Linked DNA regions of Homo sapiens: region 2 is linked to region 1. Evidence: promoter capture Hi-C in 16 types of primary human blood cells and fetal thymus (Javierre and others, 2016). All regions are on one chromosome and are shown on one strand. Each heading gives the region's core, a stretch centred on a gene start or on the middle of the fragment in contact. The rest is flanking DNA. Distances are from core to core; before and after follow the strand shown.

What was found. The method cuts DNA at HindIII sites, captures the fragments that hold promoters and counts their contacts. A CHiCAGO score of 5 or more calls a contact.
Region 2: a contact is called between the fragment with the promoter of H1-4 here and the fragment with the promoter of H2BC11 in region 1, in 11 of 17 cell types (total B cells, total CD4 T cells, naive CD8 T cells and 8 more). The highest score is 28.5, in total B cells.

What each region holds. Positions count from the first base shown.
Region 1 is chr6:27,129,637-27,135,476 of GRCh38, forward strand. It overlaps H2BC11 (H2B clustered histone 11), which reads right to left and starts at 3,159. Exons shown (of 1, transcript NM_021058.4): 1 at 2,680-3,159. The coding sequence starts at 3,114. The coding sequence ends at 2,734. H2AC11 (H2A clustered histone 11) reads left to right here and starts at 3,407. Exons shown (of 1, transcript NM_021064.5): 1 at 3,407-3,899. The coding sequence starts at 3,436. The coding sequence ends at 3,828. RefSeq lists enhancers at 2,379-2,438, 2,779-2,848, 2,859-2,928, 3,060-3,573, 3,539-3,878 and 1 more. The HindIII fragment of the contact is 7,052 bases long and covers 1,687-5,840 here.
Region 2 is chr6:26,153,150-26,159,123 of GRCh38, forward strand. It overlaps H1-4 (H1.4 linker histone, cluster member), which reads left to right and starts at 3,180. Exons shown (of 1, transcript NM_005321.3): 1 at 3,180-3,966. The coding sequence starts at 3,242. The coding sequence ends at 3,901. H2BC5 (H2B clustered histone 5) reads left to right here and starts at 4,973. Exons shown (of 1, transcript NM_021063.4): 1 at 4,973-5,458. The coding sequence starts at 5,021. The coding sequence ends at 5,401. RefSeq lists enhancers at 2,908-3,659, 3,184-3,343, 3,604-3,683, 4,413-5,164, 5,304-5,353 and a silencer at 3,974-4,023. The HindIII fragment of the contact is 19,818 bases long and covers 1-5,974 here.

The DNA.
Region 1 (5,840 bases), core at 1,909-4,408:
AATGACATTCAATACTCCAAATTGTGCTGAGTGGCAGCAATTCTTTTCCCTATTGCCATTTATGGACATACTTGAGTTACGGTTTCTAATACTACTGTTACAACCGGCATCAGTAGTATTAGCCAACATATATTGAATGCTTACTATGTACAGGACATTGTTCTAAGTATACCAAAACTATTTGCTCAAGAGGCACTGTTACATCCCCCTTTTTAAAATGAAGGAAAAAGCCAGAGGAAAAAAAAGGGAAAAAAGCCAATTCTTCAGGAACTGGTTAGTAATGGGTTGAACTTGCAGCATTCAGTTTTTCTTCTTTTTTTTTTTTTTTTTTTGAGACGGAGTCCCCTCTGTTGCCCAGGCTGGAATGCACTGACACGATCTCGGCTCACTGCAACCTATGCCTCCTGGGGTCAAGTGATTCTCCTGCCTCAGCCTCCCGAATAGCTGGGATTACAGGGTCCCACCAGCACATCAGGCTAATTTTTGTATTTTTAGTAGGGACGGGGTTTCACCATCCCCCAGGGGCAGGGGCTGCTCTCGATCTCCTGACCTCAAGTGATCTACCAGCCTTGGCCTCCCAAAGTTCTGGGATTACAGGCGTGAGCCACCCCGCCCAGTCCCATTCAGTTTTTCAAGCAAAGTATTAACTCTTTGTCCTTATTAAGGGGACACCAGCAAGATGAAAATAACCCATAAGGTGATCATTTGTTTCATTACCCCTTAGGCAGTTTAGTCTTCTGAGTAACAGGAGAATTAGCTGGGTTCTTTTCAACTTAACTTTGTATAGTTTTCGAAAACCTAGCCTTTACAAATTTTCACCTGTGGCTGGACAATATACCCATGAGTCAGTCGCAATCCTCCTTTTCTTACAAACCCTGCTTTTTATTCTGATTTCTATATCCTGTAAGACAAAGAAGCAAGTTATTTAGCTTGGAAATTATCATCTGACTATTTGGATTAATAGAGAGGGTCAGAGGCCCATGTAACATAACAATAATGTCATAAAAGTAATTTAAGTTCTGTTTATTCACAGAATTGATAACAGTTCAGTTATCCTTAGTACGGGATGATTATGGTGAAGGAAAAGAACTTGAGTGTATATTTTCTACATAGAAATATATACAACAAACCAGATAGCAATTCAGAGAGATACATATTTTAGAAACTCTACAGACAGTTTTCAAAGGCTGGACAAGTGTCCGAGAAAAAGCTAAAAAAACAGAAGAAATTTCATAAAGCAGGCAATATTTAACTGGGCTTTGAAAAAAACAGGACTTGAGTCAACAAGGGAAACGTGTGTATTTGATAGTGGATTTAACAAAAATACTAATTGTTTTAGATGTTATTACTGTGCTAAATTTAGATCCATTTTAAATAAACTAGATAGTAACTCAAGTTTATATACAATTACTACCTTTGAAACCAAAACCTAGTCATAGTGGGAGCTTCCAAATGCTTTATAGACCTTGGATTTTTACCTAAGAGACACATGACTGAAGTTACAACCTAGAGCAACATCGTTTGTTGGGTGACTGGTTCTCATTTGTGACAACCTGAATAAGGGGGAACTTGTTTTTCCTCACTTCTTCTAGGCAAAGTCAAAAACAGTATTTAAAATACTAACGAAAGGAGTTTTAAAATTGAAATTGACTTGTTTCAGAAAAGAGTCTGGGATAAATGTCCTCAAGCTTTCTGCCTTCATTACGCCCCGAATTGTCCTGTTTAGGCTTCTAATGCCTTTGCTTATATAGATATACCATAAAGGGAAAATAGTATTCTAATCAGAAATAAAGCATTGATCTTTCTCAGGCTGAAAACTACAGCATTCAAATTCCGTTGTAGCCGGGCTTGATGGCTCATGCCTGTAATCCTAGCACTTTAAGGCTGAGGCTAGTGGATCACCTGAAGTCAGTTCGAGACCAGCCTAGCCAACATGGTGAAACCCCATCTCTACTAAAAATACAAAAATTATCCGGGCATGGTGGCGCATGCCTGTAATCCCAGCTACACGGAAGGGTGAAGCAGGAGAATCGCTGGAACCCGGGAGGCGGAGGCTGCAGTGAGCTGAGATCGCGCCACCGCACTCCAGTCTGGGCGACAGAGGAAGTCTCCTTCTCAAAAAAAAAAAAACTGATTATGTTGCCATAAAGGGTCCCTTTAAAAAAAAAAACGCTCTATCCAACGAAAACTAATTAGAAATAAATCTCCTTCCCGAAAGCGATAAAATACTAAAGAATGAGAAACTGACAGTTTACTGAGTTTGTAAGGAAGGCCAAATAAAGGCGGGGTTTGGATTCCTTTGGCGCACCCAAGCCGACCGTGGACTTCCTGGATACAACAACCAATCAGGATGCAGAGGAAGGGCGGGCGTTGCCCGGGCAAATTCAAACTGACAACCGCTGCAACTTGGCACTGTTCCAAATCACTAACCGACGGGGGACCGACGAGTATTTTAATTGGTTTCTAACGTATTTTAATTGGTTTCGAACTTATAATAGAAAATTTCCCATCTCCTTACTTAACTCTAAGATTAGAATGGCAGATCTAAAAAAAAAAAGTCACTAAGGATTAGTTAAATAACTGCTCTACTTCAGACCAAAAAACACAGTAGCAAGTTACAAGGGTTTGTCAGTGGCCAGCAGAGGAGGAATACAAGCACCAGCTCTTTCTTTGAGAACATGGGTGGCTCTTAAAAGAGCCGTTAGGGTTGAGAGTTTGCAACCAACTCACTGTTTACTTAGCGCTGGTGTACTTGGTGACGGCCTTAGTACCCTCGGACACGGCGTGCTTGGCCAACTCCCCAGGCAGCAGCAGGCGCACGGCCGTCTGGATCTCCCTGGAGGTGATGGTCGAGCGCTTGTTGTAATGCGCCAGGCGGGAAGCCTCACCTGCGATGCGCTCGAAAATGTCGTTCACAAACGAATTCATGATGCCCATGGCCTTGGACGAAATGCCGGTGTCAGGGTGGACCTGCTTCAGAACCTTGTACACATAGATGGAATAGCTCTCCTTGCGGCTGCGCTTGCGCTTCTTGCCGTCTTTCTTCTGCGCCTTAGTCACCGCCTTCTTGGAGCCCTTTTTCGGGGCGGGAGCAGACTTCGCTGGCTCTGGCATAGCACTGTGTAGCTATAAAGCGCCAACGAAAAGGAAAAACAGCGTGAGCAGGGTATGACAAGGCGCTTTTATATAGAATCGCTTATGCAAATAAGGTGAAGAGTTGAAGTCTTGTGTCTGATTGGTAGTTATTCAGGGTAACGTCAGAGGTCAGGTCTGCCCAATCAGGATTCGCAAATCCAGAAGACGCACTACTATTGGTTGAAATTAAACTGCAGCCCTAACCAACAACACGTCTTCTTTTTCGCGCCCAATAGTGTTTATAAAAAGCGCCGCCTTTCCCGTTCACTTTGTGGTTGCTCGTAGTGAGTTGCGCTCGCTATGTCTGGACGTGGCAAGCAGGGAGGCAAAGCCCGCGCTAAGGCCAAGACTCGCTCTTCTAGGGCCGGTCTCCAGTTCCCCGTGGGCCGAGTGCACCGCCTGCTCCGCAAAGGCAACTATGCCGAGCGGGTCGGGGCCGGCGCGCCGGTGTATCTGGCAGCGGTGCTGGAGTACCTGACCGCCGAGATCCTGGAACTGGCGGGCAACGCGGCCCGCGACAACAAGAAGACCCGCATCATCCCGCGTCATCTCCAACTGGCCATCCGCAACGACGAGGAGCTCAACAAGCTGCTGGGCAAAGTCACCATCGCACAGGGCGGTGTCCTGCCCAACATTCAGGCCGTGCTACTGCCCAAAAAGACTGAGAGCCACCACAAGGCGAAGGGCAAGTAACTATCTGTACTAGTTTGTGGCAGCTCAAGTAAAATCGAGTCCAAACCAACGGCTCTTTTCAGGGCCACCCACGTCTTCTCTAAAAGAACTTAACATTTATTCCATGTGAAAGAAAGTGAGACATGGACAAGACTCTAGTCATAAATTACCCATCTTTTTGAAAACAGTGTAGCGAACACCGCAGATTTAAAAGAAAAACTAGAGGGAAGGTGGTCCAGATTTTACCACGCTTAAAAGTTAAGATGTGAACAAATCTCTTAGGCCATTACTTAATTTTAAACTTAATCAGTGTGTGTCCACAGAGCACCAGTGGCTTCGTGAGTTCTTGAAGCACTTTGGCCCAAAAGAGTTATCGCCCGGGCTAGAATTTAGCAGACAGCTGTTCCACGCGGGCCAGGGCGGCATGAAGAAGTCCCGCCGCTACGTGCCCGGCACAGTGGCCCTGCGCGACGTTCGGCGCTACCAGAACTCCGAGCTGCTGATCAGCAAGCTGCCGCTCCTGCGAGAGCTCGGCGGTGACGCCGCTGCACGAGAGCGAGGCTGAAGAACTTTGTGACACAATAGTCCACCTCCCTGCAAAGGCTCTGTCAGAGACTCACATCTTTCCTGATGGATAGCTGTGAAGCATTCTCTTACCCACCCTACTGCATGTTGCAAAGTATTCCTTTAAAATGAAGTGAGTAAAATACTGGGATGACGTTATCTGGAGCCCAAGAAAGATGGCTCATTTGGAAAGGCCTAATATCCCAAGTTGCTTACCTAGAAGAACTTGACAGGATAGTTAATAATAAACCTTAAAACCCATGAAGAAATCTGAGGTAAAGTGTTAGCACACAGACTGTTAAAATGTCTGCCTCACAGATAGGAGGGAAAATATATAGAGGATTATAATATGGTTCAACAAATGTTGATGAGTATTAGAAATGTACATTAGAAATATTAGAAATGTTTATGACTATTAGAAAAGTACAGGGTATTGGGCGTTCCTGACACAAACTGAGGCCTCCTAGCAAGACTGGCAGTTTTCTGTAAAGGAGGGTTATTTACTACGGTAGTGCAAATAACTTTTGGTGTTGTAGCTAAATAAGGAATACTCATGCCAAGATTGCACAATTGTGCCTCCTCCCTCTGTTCACTGAACTCTGATGTAATTTTTTTTTTTTTTTTGAGACGGAGTCTCGCTCTGTCGCCCAGGCTGGAGTGCAGTGGCGCTATCTCGGCTCACTGCAAGCTCCGCCTCCCGGGTTCACGCCATTCTCCTGCCTCAGCCTCCTGAGTAGCTGGGGCTACAGGCGTCTGCCACCATGCCCAGCTACTTTTTTGTATTTTTAGTAGATACGGGGTTTCACCGTGTTAGCCAGGATGGTCTTGATGTCCTGACCTCGTGATCCACCGGCCTCGGCCTCCCAAAGTGCTGGGATTACCGGCGTAAGCCACCACGCCCGGCCCACTCTGAAGTAATCTTAAGAAGACGTTAACTCATTTTTCTTGTGTATTGTAGACACTTTTGGCTGTCTGGTAACATGGAAAATCTCAGAATGATGTTTTAAGTATATAAAATGCCAAACAAAGTTAAATTACAGTTATCAAAGTATTTTTAAAACTTCATAGTGATAAATGAGACTATATAGTTATATTGTTAATATAGTTAACACATTACATGATTTGGTGAGCCTAATTGCTGTTACTAATTAGAGGAGTAAAAATGTTTCACGATAACTCAGCAATTGTAATGAGAAATGAAACATCTAATGTCTTTTGGGTTACAAAGTAACAGGTACTGAGATTTGTGGCCTAAATTCATAATAAAGTGAAATGTTCAAGTTCAGTCAAGGTTAAGTTTTTAAAAATAGATATTTTACTACCCAAACTCACAGACTTCCCCTTCAACACCCTCCAATTGCTGAATTTTTTCCTTAGGGGCATTGTGACATATAAGTACGGACCTCAGGTTAAAAACTCTTGCTCTAAAATTTGGTCAACCTACCCCATTTCTTTTCAGCTCCTTTTCT
Region 2 (5,974 bases), core at 1,930-4,429, 980 kb before region 1:
CAGAATCTATGTTTAAAACACATGCATGACTGGGTGGTTCATACCTGTAATCCCAGCAGTTTGGGAGGCCGAGGCGGGTGGATCACCTGATATCAGGAGTTGGAGACCAGCCTGACCAACATGGTGAAACCCTGTCTCTACTAAAAATACAAAAATTAGCTGGGTGTGGTGGCGGGCACCTGTAATCCCAGCTACTTGGGCGGCTGAGACAGGAGAATCGCTTGAACCCGGGAAGTGGACTTTGCAGTGAGCAGAAATCGCTCCATTGATTGCACTCTAGCCTCGGTGACAAGAGCGAAACTCCATCTCAAAAAAATAATAACAAAATAAAAAATAGAACACATGCATGAACATGTGTGTGTGCACACACGCCTAGTTCTGAGATAGCCAGCCCGCTGACCAATAAGAAAGTAAGGCCTTTTGTTATTGTTCCTATTTCATCACCGACAAGTGTCAAATAGATGCTTGATTTCATAGTGGTCAATCCTCAATCTCTGTCACCAAGGCTCGAGAGCACGTTCACTGCAACCTCCGCCTTCCTGGTTCAAGGGCTTTTCCTGCCTCAGCCTCCCGAGTAGCTGGGATTACACCACCACACCTAACTATTATTATTATTATTATTATTATTATTATTATTATTTTATTTTAGCAGAGATGGGGTTTCACCTTGTTGGTCAGGCTGGCCTCGGACTCCTGATCTCAAGTCATCCATTCGCCTCAGCATCTCAAAGTGCTAGGATTACCGGCGTGAGCCACCTCTCCCAGCCCATGCATTTGGAGGCAGAGGCAGTGGTTGCAGTGAACCAAGATCGCGCCATTGCACTCCAGCCTGGGTGACACAGTGAGACTCTGTCTCAAAAAAAGAAAAGAAAAGTAAAGTAAAGAAAACACACCACACCTTAAGGAGGCAAGCAGTGGAAGTTGAAAGACCACAGAATTTGGAGAGTTTAACTCCTTCCTAGCCATGAGGAATACACTGGATAAAGTGAGGCATGTGAAAGCAAACTTCCATGTGTTGTGTAAGTTTCAGTCATTTACAGGAGTGGTTTTTGTTGTCATTAAATAGGTATAATATTACCATTCTGGAATCAAATGCCCATATAATCAGTTTCCCTAGTCTGTTTTGGAGATTTATCCATCTCCCTTTTTATTTCAATAAATACCAAAGGGCATATTTATTTTTGCACTGATGTGCAATAATTAGATTGAAAATACACATCAAGATATTAAAAACATTGATAATTTACATCACTTTTATAACAAATTCAACATTAAACAGTACTGTTTTGATACATTTCACTCGTGTTATATCAAAATTCTATATTCTCCTTATTTCAGTAGCAGAATTTGTGTCTGGAGATTTTGGGCAATGAAATTAAAATTTAAAATGATATCCAACGCCATATTACAATCAACCACGTCCACAGAACAGTATCATATCACCTTATAGCACTGGGCAAAATTTTATTTTGTTTCCATGATAAGTGGCTTGTAGTTCCACCCATACTGTTCCAGCCATATCGTTTTTCAGAAAAAATTCTTTTTTTTTTTTTTTTTGAGACGGAGTCTTGCTCTTTCGCCTAGGCCTGACTGCAGTGGCACTATCTAGGCTCACTGCAAGCTCCGCCTCCCGGGTTCACGCCATTCTCCTGCCTCAGTCTCCCGAGTAGCTGGGACTGCAGGCGCCCGCCACCGCACCCGGCTAATTTTTTGTACTTTTAGTAGATACAGGGTTTCACCGTGTTAGCCAGGATGGTCTTGATCTCCTGACCTCGTGATCCGCCCGTCTCGGCCTCCCAAAGTGCTGGGATTACAGGCGTGAGCCACCGCGCCCGGACCAGAAATAATTCTTTTGGTTGGGCTTTCATTGCCAGCTTACATACACTCTTCTTGATTGGGCAACTACCTAAAGAAATTCACTCAGACATTGTTCAAAGGATGTTTTCAGAGGGCAATGATTTATAATAGCTTAGATAGACTCTCAAAGCTCTACTTCTGAGATCGAAATTTGAACTTGTCGTTTAATCACTACATGTCACTTATTTTTCTTTCTATTGAGCTCTGGGAAGCATTGGAATACAATCTTCAGGGGGATTGAAACCATACGTGGTGAGTGGACTAGTCATTCCTCAACTATTCAGTAATAATAGGGGCTGGGTTTCACTAATAATGGGAGTAGATGTTTCAATCTACGTTTCTTATTTATTTTGCCTTATCATCAATGCTTGAATTTCAGCTCTAAGCTACTTTATTGCAATTTGGTTCTGAAGCATATGCCAAAAGCACTCAGCAAGGCTGCAGACAAATGCTTTAAAGTAAAGTGCACCTCCACTTCCAGTGACTTTATGAACATCACATTTGAAAATTAATCCTTTTTCATCTCTGTACCCTGAGTACATTTTGGACTTCCCTTCGTTCCCAAATACCCTGAATTCAAGGTATCTCAATCCATGGAGCAATTGTCCAGAGGAAGAGAGAAGCAACAGCCCCGCCCCCAACCCTTGGGAGCAGAAAGGGAAAGAATTATCCAAAGAATTGTTTAAAAACTCAGATGTAGCGGACAGATGTAAAACCATGGCTGTATAGATTGATGTCCCAGGGGTCCAAAACTTAATCTCAAATGGGCAATAATTTGTTTGGCATTAAACTAAACCAGTTTGATGAACTCAAATGCCCTCGGCTCAATAGGCAGGACTCTCCGAGGAGCCTGTGTTACTTCCCTCACTTAAGTGCAGATTTGTAATAAAAATCTTAATGCCAGTGGCATGCTTTTTGGATATATAAGAAGCTAACCACTTGGAGTATCATATTTGAGAGGTCAGAAAAGTCCACAGTTAAAGATCGGTTTATAATTTACGAAGAAAATAGAAAGTTTTGTTTCTCTGAGTTGAAATTTGCCAAGCACGGCGGGAAATATTGCAAGTTTTTGGCACAAGGCTTTGTGCTTCCCTTATAATTTGAGATCTGCGTGAAGCCTGAGGGTTCGGGGATCATTATCTGAGAAAAACCGGGCAGTTCGGTGTAGACAATTTTTATATTTTTGGCTTTTTTTGAGGTGTAACAAACACAACTCGGGATCCGAGAGGACACTCTGCGGCTGCCAGCGAGGCGGGCTGGACAGCGCACCAATCACGGCGCAGCTCCGCCCTATATAAACGGGCGGGCGCAGCGCCGCGGCTCGAGTCCCGGCCAGTGCCTCTGCTTCCGGCTCGAATTGCTCTCGCTCACGCTTGCCTTCAACATGTCCGAGACTGCGCCTGCCGCGCCCGCTGCTCCGGCCCCTGCCGAGAAGACTCCCGTGAAGAAGAAGGCCCGCAAGTCTGCAGGTGCGGCCAAGCGCAAAGCGTCTGGGCCCCCGGTGTCCGAGCTCATTACTAAAGCTGTTGCCGCCTCCAAGGAGCGCAGCGGCGTATCTTTGGCCGCTCTCAAGAAAGCGCTGGCAGCCGCTGGCTATGACGTGGAGAAGAACAACAGCCGCATCAAGCTGGGTCTCAAGAGCCTGGTGAGCAAGGGCACCCTGGTGCAGACCAAGGGCACCGGCGCGTCGGGTTCCTTCAAACTCAACAAGAAGGCGGCCTCTGGGGAAGCCAAGCCTAAGGCTAAAAAGGCAGGCGCGGCCAAGGCCAAGAAGCCAGCAGGAGCGGCGAAGAAGCCCAAGAAGGCGACGGGGGCGGCCACCCCCAAGAAGAGCGCCAAGAAGACCCCAAAGAAGGCGAAGAAGCCGGCTGCAGCTGCTGGAGCCAAAAAAGCGAAAAGCCCGAAAAAGGCGAAAGCAGCCAAGCCAAAAAAGGCGCCCAAGAGCCCAGCGAAGGCCAAAGCAGTTAAACCCAAGGCGGCTAAACCAAAGACCGCCAAGCCCAAGGCAGCCAAGCCAAAGAAGGCGGCAGCCAAGAAAAAGTAGAAAGTTCCTTTGGCCAACTGCTTAGAAGCCCAACACAACCCAAAGGCTCTTTTCAGAGCCACCCACCGCTCTCAGTAAAAGAGCTGTTGCACTATTAGGGGGCGTGGCTCGGGAAAACGCTGCTAAGCAGGGGCGGGTCTCCCGGGAACAAAGTCGGGGAGAGGAGTGGGATTTTGTGTGTCTCCGGAGCTATTTTTGACTAAGGCGTCGCGTCGCCCAAGCCGGAGTGCAGTGGCGTCATCTCGATTTTGCGTTCTCGAGTGTCGGAGTTGAACCCATTTGGGCCTCCCTTGTGCTTTGCACTTTTAGCAGGCCCTGGCCTCCAGATAGCATGGGAAAAAAAATGTTGGGATTTTCCCGGGTTTCTAAGCTGGGTTTTTCCGAGTTCCAAACACGGCACAGTGTATCAGTTTCTGTGCTGGTTACAAGCCTACTGGTTATCCCTATCGAGTATGGCAGGCAGTGAGGGACTTCAGAGGAGTACGTCTTAGGACAAGTGGCATAGTACTGACATTATTTCCGAAGGGCTACATTTCAAGTGCTTGGGGAGACTACTGCCACATAACTGAAAATTAGAAACCGACACTGCAGAAAAATACTTGGTCCTTAAATGTGGCATTTGGATGGATTAAGGACTTGCCGAAACGTAAAACTGACAGACTTGGGGGGGGGGGATGTCCCAATTAGCACGGCTTCTGTATGCAACGAGTCCCATACTTTGTTAAAGGAAGAAAGGAATGTGAGTTCTCCTAATCTGTTAAGTATCTTTCGGTGTAAGTTCTGACACCACAATGTTAAAAAAGTCGGATCTCAAAAACCAACTGCTCCAAGCGAAGTGCACAGCTGTCTTGCCTAAAGAGGCCTATTTATAGTAGCCTCGGGTAGTCTGGTCTGGGCTTTCTCATTGGGTACAAGTAAAGGAACGAAATAGCCAATGAAAAGGTAGACTTTTAAGTGTCGTTTACATTGGCATTTGTGACGACACTCTAAAATTAATCCAATCATAAACGAAATCTGATTAACCTCATTTGAATACCGCATCTATAAATGAACAGGGCCTCGGCGGGAGTGATTATTTTCTCAGGTGTTTGCAACAGTGTTCTAACTATTAACGCTACGATGCCTGAACCTACCAAGTCTGCTCCTGCCCCAAAGAAGGGCTCCAAGAAGGCGGTGACTAAGGCTCAGAAGAAGGACGGGAAGAAGCGCAAGCGCAGCCGCAAGGAGAGCTATTCAGTGTATGTGTACAAGGTGCTGAAGCAGGTCCATCCCGACACCGGCATCTCTTCCAAGGCAATGGGGATCATGAATTCCTTCGTCAACGACATCTTCGAGCGCATCGCAGGCGAGGCTTCCCGCCTGGCGCATTACAACAAGCGCTCGACCATCACCTCCAGGGAGATCCAGACGGCCGTGCGCCTGCTGCTTCCGGGGGAGCTGGCCAAGCACGCCGTGTCGGAGGGCACCAAGGCCGTCACCAAGTACACCAGTTCCAAGTAACTTTGCCAAGTAAGCATCTTTACACCTAATCCCAAAGGCTCTTTTAAGAGCCACGCATGTTTTCAATAAATGAGTTGTAATCATTTCATTCAAAAGGGGGGTTATTGGACTTAGCACCACAGTACCAATCTTTAATGTTACGTTAGTACTGCAGAGGAAATAACTTGGAAGTTACAGGGAATAACAATAGGTACTAGAAATTGAGTGCTATGGGTACGTATTAGATCGTTAGCTCATTTAGTATCACATAACACTAGCATAAACTGAAAGTATTGTAAATGTACAGCTCTTTGGTTTCCGTGTGCAGATTTCCAAGTTGATCGTGATGTTGATCCGGGACTCGGTGTGGTGACGGCCCGCCCTGAGCACGAAAGTGCACGCTCTTGACAACTTCCTTATGTTTGGAGCTTTCTCCACCACCACCCCCGCCCATTTTCTTGTAAAATTTTTACCATGCAGATATGTAATAACTGCAAGTAAAGGCTGAAGACAATGTGAGCTGAACACGGAACTATTACAAAGGTTTCTGATTTGTTTTGTAATTGGGCCAGTTTCTGTCTGAAGCTCTTAAGC